2 separate regions of the Homo sapiens genome follow, and region 2 is linked to region 1. Evidence: promoter capture Hi-C in 16 types of primary human blood cells and fetal thymus (Javierre and others, 2016). All regions are on one chromosome and are shown on one strand. Each heading gives the region's core, a stretch centred on a gene start or on the middle of the fragment in contact. The rest is flanking DNA. Distances are from core to core; before and after follow the strand shown. Region 1 holds the start of PSMD6-AS1 (PSMD6 antisense RNA 1). Region 2 holds the start of THOC7-AS1 (THOC7 antisense RNA 1).

The links. Contacts are between HindIII fragments. The CHiCAGO score rates a contact against its expected background, and 5 or more counts as called.
Region 2: the fragment with the promoter of THOC7-AS1 here is called in contact with the fragment with the promoter of PSMD6-AS1 in region 1 in 15 of 17 cell types (total CD8 T cells, naive CD4 T cells, monocytes and 12 more); the score reaches 14.7 in total CD8 T cells.

What each region holds. Positions count from the first base shown.
Region 1 is chr3:64,007,767-64,013,664 of GRCh38, forward strand. PSMD6-AS1 (PSMD6 antisense RNA 1) reads left to right here and starts at 4,198. Exons shown (of 2, transcript NR_189168.1): 1 at 4,198-4,276. PSMD6 (proteasome 26S subunit, non-ATPase 6) reads right to left here. Exons shown (of 8, transcript NM_014814.3): 6 at 5,673-5,841; 7 at 3,112-3,189; 8 at 2,785-2,998. The coding sequence ends at 2,902. It overlaps PSMD6-AS2 (PSMD6 antisense RNA 2), which reads left to right. Exons shown (of 3, transcript NR_038286.1): 2 at 1,931-1,987; 3 at 4,031-4,477. The HindIII fragment of the contact is 1,623 bases long and covers 3,302-4,924 here.
Region 2 is chr3:63,858,588-63,864,187 of GRCh38, forward strand. It overlaps THOC7-AS1 (THOC7 antisense RNA 1), which reads left to right and starts at 2,058. Exons shown (of 2, transcript NR_104326.1): 1 at 2,058-2,409; 2 at 2,912-3,232. THOC7 (THO complex subunit 7) reads right to left here and starts at 5,218. Exons shown (of 8, transcript NM_025075.4): 1 at 5,185-5,218. The coding sequence starts at 5,203. It overlaps ATXN7 (ataxin 7), which reads left to right and starts at 5,280. Exons shown (of 13, transcript NM_001377405.1): 1 at 5,280-5,571. RefSeq lists silencers at 4,937-5,156, 5,487-5,600. The HindIII fragment of the contact is 14,056 bases long and covers 1-5,600 here.

The sequences.
Region 1 (5,898 bases), core at 2,948-5,447:
TGATTTGCTAATGATTTAGTAGCCTTTTATCAGTTAATGTTTGGTCAGGTTATAAAAGACCAAATGTGTTCAGTCACAAAATCCTAAGTGTATTGAGTATTGCATGCTTAGTGATCAAGTTGTAGGCATCCTTCTAGCCATCTGGGGCAGGTAAAAGTTGGGTGCTTAACAAAAGTGGTTTTTACACTGTTTCTGTCCTAAGAGACACTGTTTTTTAATAGCTTAAAAATTGACCTAAAGCTGTTATTTCTAATACAGGAAATAGATTACCATAATTTGACATAGCTTTAAAATATTTAGCTCTTACTCGATAGATTTGCTATAAAATCAACTTTTACTGAGGTAAGAGAAACTGGCATTTCTGCTTTAAAAATAATCACAAAAGATAGTTTATCCTGGCGATATCATTTCACACTAGGATAGTTACTTTTGACTGAAACCAGGGTTAAAAATAAGATTGTTTCCCACTTCAAAAGAAAACATTTACCAACATGAAAAAGGAACTATGTATAACTGTTTTAGCATCATTTCATAATCTTATTTTCATATTGTGAAGTAACCTTCTTGAATAAAAGCAGAAAATTAAGACTTTCAGAAAACAAGCTGTACCAGTTAAAGCTACTAGAGACAGGATAAAGGTTAGGAATTCTTTGGATAGTTTCTCCTAGCTCAAGCTTGTCCAACCCAGAGCCCACAACAGCTTTGAATGTGGCCCAACACACATTTGTAAGTTTTCTTAAAACATTATGAGCTGTTTTGTTTTGAGCTCATCAGCTATCCTTAGCGTATTTTGTGTCACCCAAGACAATTCTTCCAGTGTGGCCCAGGGAAGCCAAAAGATGGGACACCCCTGTCTTAGTTGATTAACACAGGAGGCTGTTAACCATCAACCTCACATGCACAATATTGGGGGTAGTGCAGGGATAACAAGCTCAAATGCCAGCAGGGGCCAGGCAGACAGGCAGTGTATATGAACAGACTGGGTGGACTGGGGCACACTGGAAAACACGCTATGCTTGTCGCTCAGCTTATTGGAGCGTGAGTCCAGATTTAGCTTCACCTGTCCTTTTTCCAGAGAAGCTAGATATGTGGTTTTTAAACTGTCAACTTTTACGTGGTAACTATAAATTTTTTTCTTGGAAAAGTATTTAGGGTGTGTCAATTGCCGCCTGTGGGTGAACAACTGCAACTCTGTAGCATTCAGAAGCCACCTTTGCATTCCTGACTAGCTTTGGTTTTCTGTAGAAAACCAAAAAGCTGAGGTTTTTTTCCTTTAAGAAATGTTTTCTAGATAAGCATTTTTAGAAATTCATAGGTGGATATTCTCAAATACATTAGGCATAGTCAGCATTTTAAAAGCCTCCCCTCCACAATACAGTGCCTACAGGAAACTCCTTTCAAAACAGAGATCTAGCCACATTGCTTTCCTTGGCATACAACCAATGGCTCTTCTTCCAGCGATGAGAGCTGCTGTCTTCACTTTTAAGATAATGCTTCTAATATTTTGCCATTAATTACCTTGTGATAGGGCTTTGATATCCCAACCTATTATTCATAGTCTACTGAAGAGTTTTTTTATCATGAAGAAATGTTGAATTATATCAAATTATTTTCAATCAAATGAGATCATGTTAACAGGAGTATGTTATTCCTGTTAGGAATTCCATATTAGGAATATGTTATTCCTAATATGTTAACAGGAATCATTCCCATCAGTAAATGTTATTTAAAGCAAAAAAACTCAAAACTCTTCTTTCCTTCCCTTGCCTTTTACAGTAAAATGCCATTTCCCATTCTCTTCTGAACTCACCTCTACCAAAACTGCTCATTAAGGTCACTAGCTGTCTTTCACTTAAGCCAAAAAGCCTAGGATCTCCTCTGACAAATTTTCTCCCCCTCATCCTCCTCACCCCATTCTTCAATCTTTTAGCAAATCCAGCTGCCTGTACAATCCATGCCACCGAATGCCGTAAGTGAGACGTAAAAGGTAAGCCAAATCCGCACTTAAAATTGCCAGTGACTTTCCTCGTCTTTCTTCCCTCCATACGTTCATGGGCTCTCCCTCCTTTTCACTTAAATGTCACCTTACCATAGAAGCCTTCCACAACACCTCAGAAGACGGCCTATACCCTGTATCTCTATCTATCTATCTATCTATCTGTCTGTCTATCTGGTTTTATACTTCTTATAGCACTTATTCCTATCTGACACACTGAATAAAACTGATAAAACTAATAAACTGTTTCAAACAAACAGAGGAACAACTTTGTTTTCCTCACTGCTATTATTACTATGGTCCTACTTTTGGAAAAAAGATTCAGTTTGCTAATAAATACTTACATATAAGGTTTTAGAAAACTGAGATCAGCCTTGGTAGATTCTGTAATCCAGGTTATGTCAGCTTCCTAAAAAAGAGTAACTTCCTGCCTTATATGGTTACTTGTTTCTGAGGGAAAGCTTATTACACATTTTCTTTATCTTCTATCTTTTGTATACTAAAAGTGGGAGACACTGTTTGTTTAATTTTAGGCCACTACTCTTCTTTCTAAAATCGGGAAGCTTACAGGTAAGAGATTTAAAGGTAAGCGATAATGGGCTGTGTCAACATCCGTATTTTACTGACGTATTTTACTGATGAGGCAGTCAGGAGCTGAACCTAGCTGAACCCAGCTGCAACCTTACCCTATAAACCAGATTTTCATTAATGAATAATTCAAGTGACATTATTTTAACATAAGTGGACCCGATTCTAGAAGGCCTATGTGTTTAAGAAAAAAATAAATGGAAAGAAACAACAATGCAGTATTTATTTTATACAGCTGACCTGGGCACATTGTGAAGTAAGCTATAAAAATTCCAAATAATTATCTCTAAAGCAAATCCTTTGTTAGTTACATGGCTTTACATATTAATTACTCTGGAAAGTTTTTGAACTCTGTTTAGTAGCAGATCTCCTTTCTTGATAGTTTCTTGGTACTGCCAGTTCTTGCTATCAGGTCTATAAATAAATTCAAGAAAAAATGAATTATTTACCAGTCACATTATTCCATGACAATAGTTGACCTACTTTTAAAATTTAGGAATGCCCCTTATTCTGAGAAATGAGAGTACCTGTTGGTTTCTACTATTTCATTCACTTTATCTATTTTGCAGTGTAGTCTCCCGGCAGCAATAAACCTGGACAGTTCCCTAATTTAGAGACAAAAAATAACAGAATTAGCTTTATAGAAAATTCTTAGAAAAATGCAAACGGCATTAAAATACTGTCTTAAATTTGTAACAAACATTTAGCTTCCCTTCAAGCTTGTTATTGCACATGCAGTAGTTGACGTTGTCCCTCCTATACTGCAGGCTTTAAGTCATCATCTACTAGAATAAACATGATCCTAGAAGTTCATATTCAGATAGATAGAAAGTAGATCAAACAATGAAACCATATGTACTCAGAGAAAAACTGTAGGTTAGGAAAAATTAGGGACCAAAACTGATAAAAACAGTAAACTGTTTCAAACAAAAGACCTAAAACAAAATTATGGAACACAGCCCATCAGTAAACATGTCAACAGCAATAGTATTAACATGTCAACAGCAATAGTATTTACTAAAACAACGACCCTTTCCCTCTCTAACATATCTTAGTCTAAACAAGTGGAAGGGAAGGGGAGAAATGATGTAGAATTATTGCTTTGCCCATTTTAAAAAAGGGGATTTCATCTAAAATGTAACTTTTTAAGGGAGAAAAAAAGAATAAAGAATCCATGACAACCCAGATTTGAAATTCTTAGGTATCACAGAAATTTAAAACAAGGCCTTTTTAGGTAACAACAACTAGAGCTCAGTGGTACAACCTTTGCCTCTCAAGCTGGTCTTAGAACATGAAGGGAAAAAAAAAAAACTGAACAAATACTACCTGAATTCAACTACTACCTGAAAGGTACCAGCTGCCTTGCATTCACTTGTCATCAAGATGACTTAAGGAATACTGCGGTGTGTGCCCCTAACTAATGAAGGCTTTATCTCCACATTACAGTTACGATACTGAAGAGACGTAACCTGACCAAGGCCACAGAGCTGGAAAAAGAAGCAAAGCCAAGCCGTTTTTCTCATGCACTGCTCACAACAAGCCCCTCCTTCCACTGACTCATGAAAAACACACTCATAATGCCCAGCCCGCACCCTAATGAACAGCCCTCTTAAGAGTGGTCATCAGACTTCAATTTCACAGACTAGAATTGAGAAATGGAACAAAACCTTGGGATACCAGCCTTCCATTTTGGTAGGGATCATTTAAAAAATGGTAGGGATCATTTAAAAAATGTGTTGGTGTCTGAAACTTACTTTGAAGTGGTTAAAAAACATAAAATGTATAGATTGTAACAAGCAAATATGTTAAAATGTACTGTACAATTCTTTCTTTACAATTTTATGGATGTTCGAAATTTAAAAAATACTAGAAAGAGAATGGTCTTATTTAAAAGAAATGCATCTTCATTTAAAGTTTCCACTGCAGACCATTGAAAACACCATCATCAACATTTAAAAACACCTACATGTGGGAGCCACTGATCTAGATGCCATCTGGACATCCCATATTGAGTATGTCTCCTACCCAACTCTACTCTCACCACCCTCGTCCACGCCACGGTAACATCTCCTCTAAGAGCTACTAAACAGCACAACTGGTCCTCTCTGCCACCTTACTCTATTTCTTATATAAAGACACTGCATAGGACCATGTAACTTGGGCTCTAAATCTTCCAATGGCTCCCTATCAAACTTACTTAAAACTCAAGCTCCATCCCATGACCTACAAGGCCCTACACAAATCATTACCTACCTAACTCTCCATATATTATCCTCAAAATCTCCTACCACTCCAACTATGCTGGAGCCACCCTGACATTTTCTGTTCCTACAACATCCAAGCTTATTCCTGGCTCAAAGCCTTAGCCTTTTCTATTCCCTTTTCTGCACGCAGAAGGACTCCATATGGCTGACTCCTCTCAATTCAAATCTCAGAGCAAACCTCACCTCCTTAAGCATGCCGTACGTAAGGATAGCATTTTCTCATCTCCATAGGTTCATTTCTATATGTGAAATTACGTTTTATATTTATTTGCTTCCTTGCCATCTCTTCCCTACTACTACAATGAAAGTGTGAAAAGGGAGCTGTAAAACAATACCAAACATATAGTAATGAATGGCTCATTAAGTATTTATTTGTTTAATCACTGATGCAAGTACTAAAAGTCCCACATTTAACAACCAATCTGACCAGAATTGCAGCAGCAACCTAAAAACTGGAAGGAATTATCAGAGGGAATATGACCAACTGTAAATATCAGATCTAAGAGTCATTACCGTAGCTGCAGTGTGGTCTACAAAGAAGTAACAGAAGACAACTTTTGATAACAACTGGTCTAATGACCTTTAACAAATCACTTAGCCTCACTACAACTCATCTTCCCATCTGTTAATGCAAGGGGCAGACATGACATGAGGAAGGCAGAGGCAACAGGATACGAATGTTTTGATAATACTGAGGAAAAAAACCTCTCCCCTCCCCGTTAAGATTGAGGGAACCAATGTAAACAAGTAAAAAATTGTACAAGTTCACATATTTTAAAAGGCAACTTTAAAACTTCAATTAACATGGCATTATTCAAACTTACTGATCAATGAATTCCACACCAACACCAAACGCTTCTGCCATATAGCCAAGGGTTAATGACCTATATGATTCCAGCAGCTGACTGTATGCATGAATTCTCATTTCTCTTACATAGTATCGATAATGAGGGGCAAAAAGCCAGTCCTTTTTCATTTCCTGTTCCACAACCGCTGCAATGAATAAAATGACAAATTATAATAGACTCTCCGTTTCAGATAAAAAGATTA
Region 2 (5,600 bases), core at 808-3,307, 150 kb before region 1:
TCTGTAGTGCAAAAAGTGCTTCTGAAATGATTTCTATCAGGGTACTAACAATATTTAGCATCCTTTAAATTAACACATACAAAATACAGTTAACATAGTTTAAATTAACAGTGACAACATCCACACTGTTTTTCAGCTAGCCAGACTGCTAGAGTTGGCAACAAGGGAAGGAGAGAAAATGGCTTTGTCACAAACTACCTGTGTGACTGCAAGTCACTAACTTCCAAAGACCTCTACTTTTTCACTTATAACATGACAGTAGTGGTGAAAATATCCAGTCTAGTAGCTATAGCTACTCTAAAGCAGGGCAGTTCCTCAAACTGAGTGCAGGAAATAAAGGGCTGCTTCTTCAAGAGCTCCCAGTCCAACTGGATACGCAGACCCAGAGGAATGGATTACATGAAGGGACAGTGATACAGGCACATCAAATTTGTAAAAGACATTGGCTCTTATGTAAGCTCCATGGACAGGTACTGGTACTCCTCCAAGAGCTTTCCAGGAGGATGAATGAGATATCAAGAGCATCCACTTCTATCTTCCACACTAACATCGCTCTAATCCAAGCCCACATTTCTCTCATCTGGAATATTTTGCATTGGACTCCCTGTTTCCATTCTTGCCTTCCTAGAATCCATTTTTTATGCAACTCAGAATGATCTAAAAGATGAATTGGATCACTAACTCTCCTGCTTACAATCCTCCTATCATTTCTAAATGCCCACAAAGGACAATTCAGTCTCCTTTCCAAAGCCTGCAAGGCTCCTCCTGAGCTCCCTTTTACCTCCTTTTGCATCGTACTCCTCTTGGCCCACCTGGATGCAGTCCTGTCCCTAGATCCAGCCCAGTGGCTTTCCTTATTTCCTCTAAAGGGTGCAGAGCTTGTTTTCACCTCGGGCCTTTGCACTAGTTGTTGTCTCTATCTGGAATACTTTCCTGGGCTCTTCATGTGGTTGAACCTGTCAGGTATCACTGCCCTCCCCCATTACTCTCTGTCCTCATTCCATCAAGTTCATTCTCAGAACTTAATTACATTCCTTTTCAGAAATTATCTTATTTACTTATTTGATTGCACACTATGGCTTCTTTCCCCAAAGCAGGGGCCAGGGCCCTCCTCTGTCTAGTTCACTGCAAAGTAGCCAGGACCTCGCATTGTGCCTAGAAGGTATGCAATAAATACTTGTTGACGGATCACACATACCACTCATTTCAGCTTGATTTTTTCAAAAGCTCAGCTGACAAAAACCATGTTTATAGAGGATTGTCTGAAGAAGTTGTAGTTTGTCTTTCCTCTATGGTCTAGATATTCAATCAAAAAACCCTGATTTGAATCAAGCCAGATCAGCAGAGCTACCCACTACCCACCTAAACCACATTGTCCATTGATTTTATTTATTTATTTTTAGACAGGGTCTAGCACTGTTGACAGGCTGGAGTGCAGTGGTGCAATCATGGCTCGTTGCAACCTCAAACTCCTGGGCTCAAGTGATCCTCCTGCCTCAGCCTCCTGAGTAGCTGGGACTACCTACAGGTGTGTTCCACTCCACCTGGCTAATTTAAGAAAATTTTTAGTAGAGATGAGTAGCTGAGACTACAGGTGCACACCACCACACACGCCTGGCTAATTTGAAAAATTCTGTAGTATAGATCATGTCTTGCTGTGTTGCTTAGGATGGTCGCAAACTCCTGGGCTCACGTGATCCTCCTGCCTTAGCATCCCAAAGTGCTAAGATTGATTACAGGTGTGAGCTACCACACCCAGCCTCTACTGGCTTTAGAATGTCTTTCTAAATTGTGATTTAGCCTTCTTTTACCTAGCAAGGGATGTGCTACAAAACAGCTCTATGATCTTCAGTGCTGAAAAGAGGTTAAGGATATGACACTGGCTTTCATTTATAAAGACCTCAATGATAAACTTTTCCTCTAGTTCAAATCAGAAAAAAAAAGTGCTTTTCCTGGGCATCTAAGATTGCCTTCTCTCATGAACACTAGATCACAGAGCAGACGAGGTCCTGCCTCTCAGAATGGCCTACTGGAGAAACAGGTCACTTACAGCTTGGTTAATTAATGTACTAGACTTTATCCTCCTGCATTTTGAGGATCACCCCACTTCTGACTTCCCTTTATTTTTCCTAATCTCAATGTTCTTTTTGTCTTGTTTTCTAATCCGTTTAATTTTTATATTTTCTCATTACAGTGAACTGCCTTAAATGTTTTCTAGCATAAGGCATATAAATAACGTATTAAGGGTGACAGCAGCAATATGCATAAAATAATATGGCTAGTAGGCAGAAGGTCAACTACTTCTAGGAAAGAAAAGAGGGGATTTTTGAGGTGGGTCTTGAGGAATAAGTGGAGTGTCACCTGATAGAAAAGGCAGGAAAAGGCAACCTGTGCAGATTAAGAGAGAAGGCAAAGTCCACATCAAAGGAAAGTGGAAGACAGATTAGTAAAACAACTCTGACATTAATATTTACTGAATATTAATTATTATGTGTTGGACTCAATGCAAAGCCCTTTACAACTTTTTGTGTTTAATCCTCAAAACAATCCGCTGATGTGGATTTTATTATTATCTCCGTTCAGAGACTGAAGCTGAGACAGTCTGTAAGTGGCAGGGTAGAGATTCCTGTGGCTTTTAAGGATGTGGGGGGGCACTTGACTGCAGTCATTACTTTAGAACTCATCTTCTGTCCCTATCTCCCATCTGACAAAGCCTGTTGCTCCTTTGGACATCTCAATCTCAATAAATAGAAAAGTAGCACTAACAGGCACACAGTGAAGTCAAAAACCTGGGATCATCCTAAATCCCTTCTCCCACCATCCATTCAATACCTGAAGTCCTGACATTCTACCTCACAAATTTCCCTATTTCCCTCCCACCTGTCCTCTTTGCATTCCCTCTTGGTCACAGTCCTCATTGTCTCTCACCAGGGCCACTGCAGAAGTAGCAGACACAGGACGCATAATAGTGAAGAGCAGGAACTCGGCAGGTGGTCTCCCTGCCTTTGACCCTCTATAACTACTATCTGTGCGACCTTAGGCAAGCTAACCTGTGTCTGTTTCATCTGTAAAATGGGGATAACAATTAGAATAATACCTAACAGCACTACGTAAACGTTAGTAAGTGGCGAGGAAACTTAGCTCCTCATTTTCTCTTCCTCTAATCATTCTGCACATAACAGAGACAGTGTGTATGTGTGTGTGTGTTTTTTTTTTTTTTAATGAGACACGGTCTCACTCTGTCACCCAGACTGGAGTGCACTGGCGCGATCTTGGCTCACTGCAGCCTCAACCTCCCAGGCTCAAGTGATCCTTTCTCCTCAGACTCCCAAGTCCTGGGACTACAGGTGTGTGCCACTGTGCCAGACCAATTTTTTTGTATTTGTAGACATGGGGTCTCACTATGTTTTCCAGGCTGGTCTTGAACTTCTGAGCTCAAGAGGTCCGCCTGCCTTGGCCTCCCAAAGTGTTGGGATTACAGGCGTGAGCCACTGTGCCCGGCATGTGTGTGTGTTTTAATGCCAATCTGATTAACACCACACCAGTGTTAAAACTTTTAATGGATTCCTATTGCCCTTAGAGATCTCTGGCTCATAACTTTCTAAATTCTAGCAATACTTGTCAGCTTTGAGTTCTTCCAACATCTTGGGGTCTTTATACAAGTGGCTACCAACCCAGAACACCAGTCCAATATCTATTTATTCTTCAAAAATGGGATTAACTTCGAGGAGGCTTTCTCATTTCCATTGATTGGATAAATAATCTTTGTTACATGTTCCTACAGTTCCCAACCTTGTACTTCCTTGTGGTAATATTTGTCACTCTTAAAACTCATTAGTCAATGTTTCTTTCCCTTCAGACCAAAATTTTGGAGAGGGAAAAGTTCTTGCTTGTTAGTTCTGGGTTGTAATCCCAAAGCCTAGTCCAGGAAGGATAAATATCCACTAAATAAATGAAACTGGAATGAAGCAAAGCTGAAATTCCACATGAAGTTCCTGGGTCTTTAGTAGCCTCCCACCTCCACTACTCTTTATCAGTCTGGAAATTTGGGCCTATCACTGTTCTTCCCATGGCCAGGCCCTTTAATGTGGAGACCCTGGTGGTCTTCAACTCTTAAGAAGTGGCCTCTCCACAGGCATTTACAGTTACCGGTCACCATCTCCTGAAAAACACCCAAGAGCCCTAGATATCCCCTTCCCAGATATCAAAGGACCTCCTTCCTCCCTAACCAGATACCTTGTAGGTTCTCCCTCCAGTTGCCAATCATGCCCCTTCCCCCAAAGTGTCACCTTATTTCCGCTCTCAGTCCATAGACCATCTCCCTTAGACTGTCCACAAACCCAGCCTTTGCCCCTCTAAATTCATCCCAGCTGACAACCACCCTTCCTAACACACACACATACATCTTTTATCGTCCTGATCTACCCTAGACGGTCTCATCACTATACTGGCTCCTCCTTACCCCCGTAAATCTCCCAGGTACACTTCCTGATCACCCTCCGGATACCTCATCCCTATCTATTCCTTTTATAAATAATTCCCTGCTCCTCCTTCTCACCCACAATCCACTCGCAGTTCAAGGCCTCATTGCCATCGACTCCACTGTCTGTGAGTGCTTCCCAATATGCCCCAGGACCCCTCCTGGTGTCACGCTCTGTATCCTGACACCCCTTGTAGACGAGTCCCGAAATTCCCGCCCCGTCCCTGGAGCTCCCACTCCCTCCCAGACCTCCACAAACCTTCCAGGCCCCCAGCCCTAAGCCCGGCACCACTGTCCACCCTTCGCGGCTCCTGGGTCCTCACCGCGCCCCTAGACAAACCCGGACTCCCTCTGGTCCCACCCGCCCTTGCACCGCTTCTAGCCGTCTCGGCCACCCACGTGTGTTCCCAGCCCACCGACCACGCTCCCGGCACACCCTATAGCCCCGCGCTGCCTCCGGGAGAGCGGACGGGGAAAGCCGAGGGTCTCCGAGGGGCGCTCGGGCTCTGGCGAGAGGAGGAAGGACTCAGGGAAGCAGCCGGGGAGGCCCGGGGCTCCGGGGAGAGGTCGGGAAGGCCGAAGCGCTCTGGCGAAGAGGCCGGGGAGGCCGAGGGGTTCCCGGAAGCGGGCCGGGAGGCCAGGGGTCTCAGGGGAGGCCCAGCGGGCCGTGCAGCGGGCGCGTGTGGCGGCGAGCGGGGCCTCACCGTCAGTCACGGCTCCCATGGCGTGCGCGGCGGCGGCGGCGGCGGCGGCGGCGCAAGCTGAGGCGGCGGTTGGCGGCGGCGGAGGTCAAACTCCCACAATGCAGCCGGGTAAACAGCCATGGAGGAGGAGGCGGCGGCGCCCGCGGCCGCCTGCTCCGACGCCTGAGCCGCGCCGCGCCGCGCCGCCGCCGCCGCCGCCGCCGCCGCGGGACCCGCGCTCCCCGCGCTCCCGGTACTCCCCGGGGGCGGCCGCGGCCGGCGCGAGTTGGGGCGAGGCTTGGCGGCCGGCGGCGGCCCCGGCTGCAGCCCGGGCTCCCGCCGCCCCCCTTGCAGCCCCCGCCCGGCCCACGCCCAGAGGCCGCCCCGGAGGCCGCAGCCAGCCGCCAGGTGAGCTCGCCCGGACGCCGCCAGGGCTG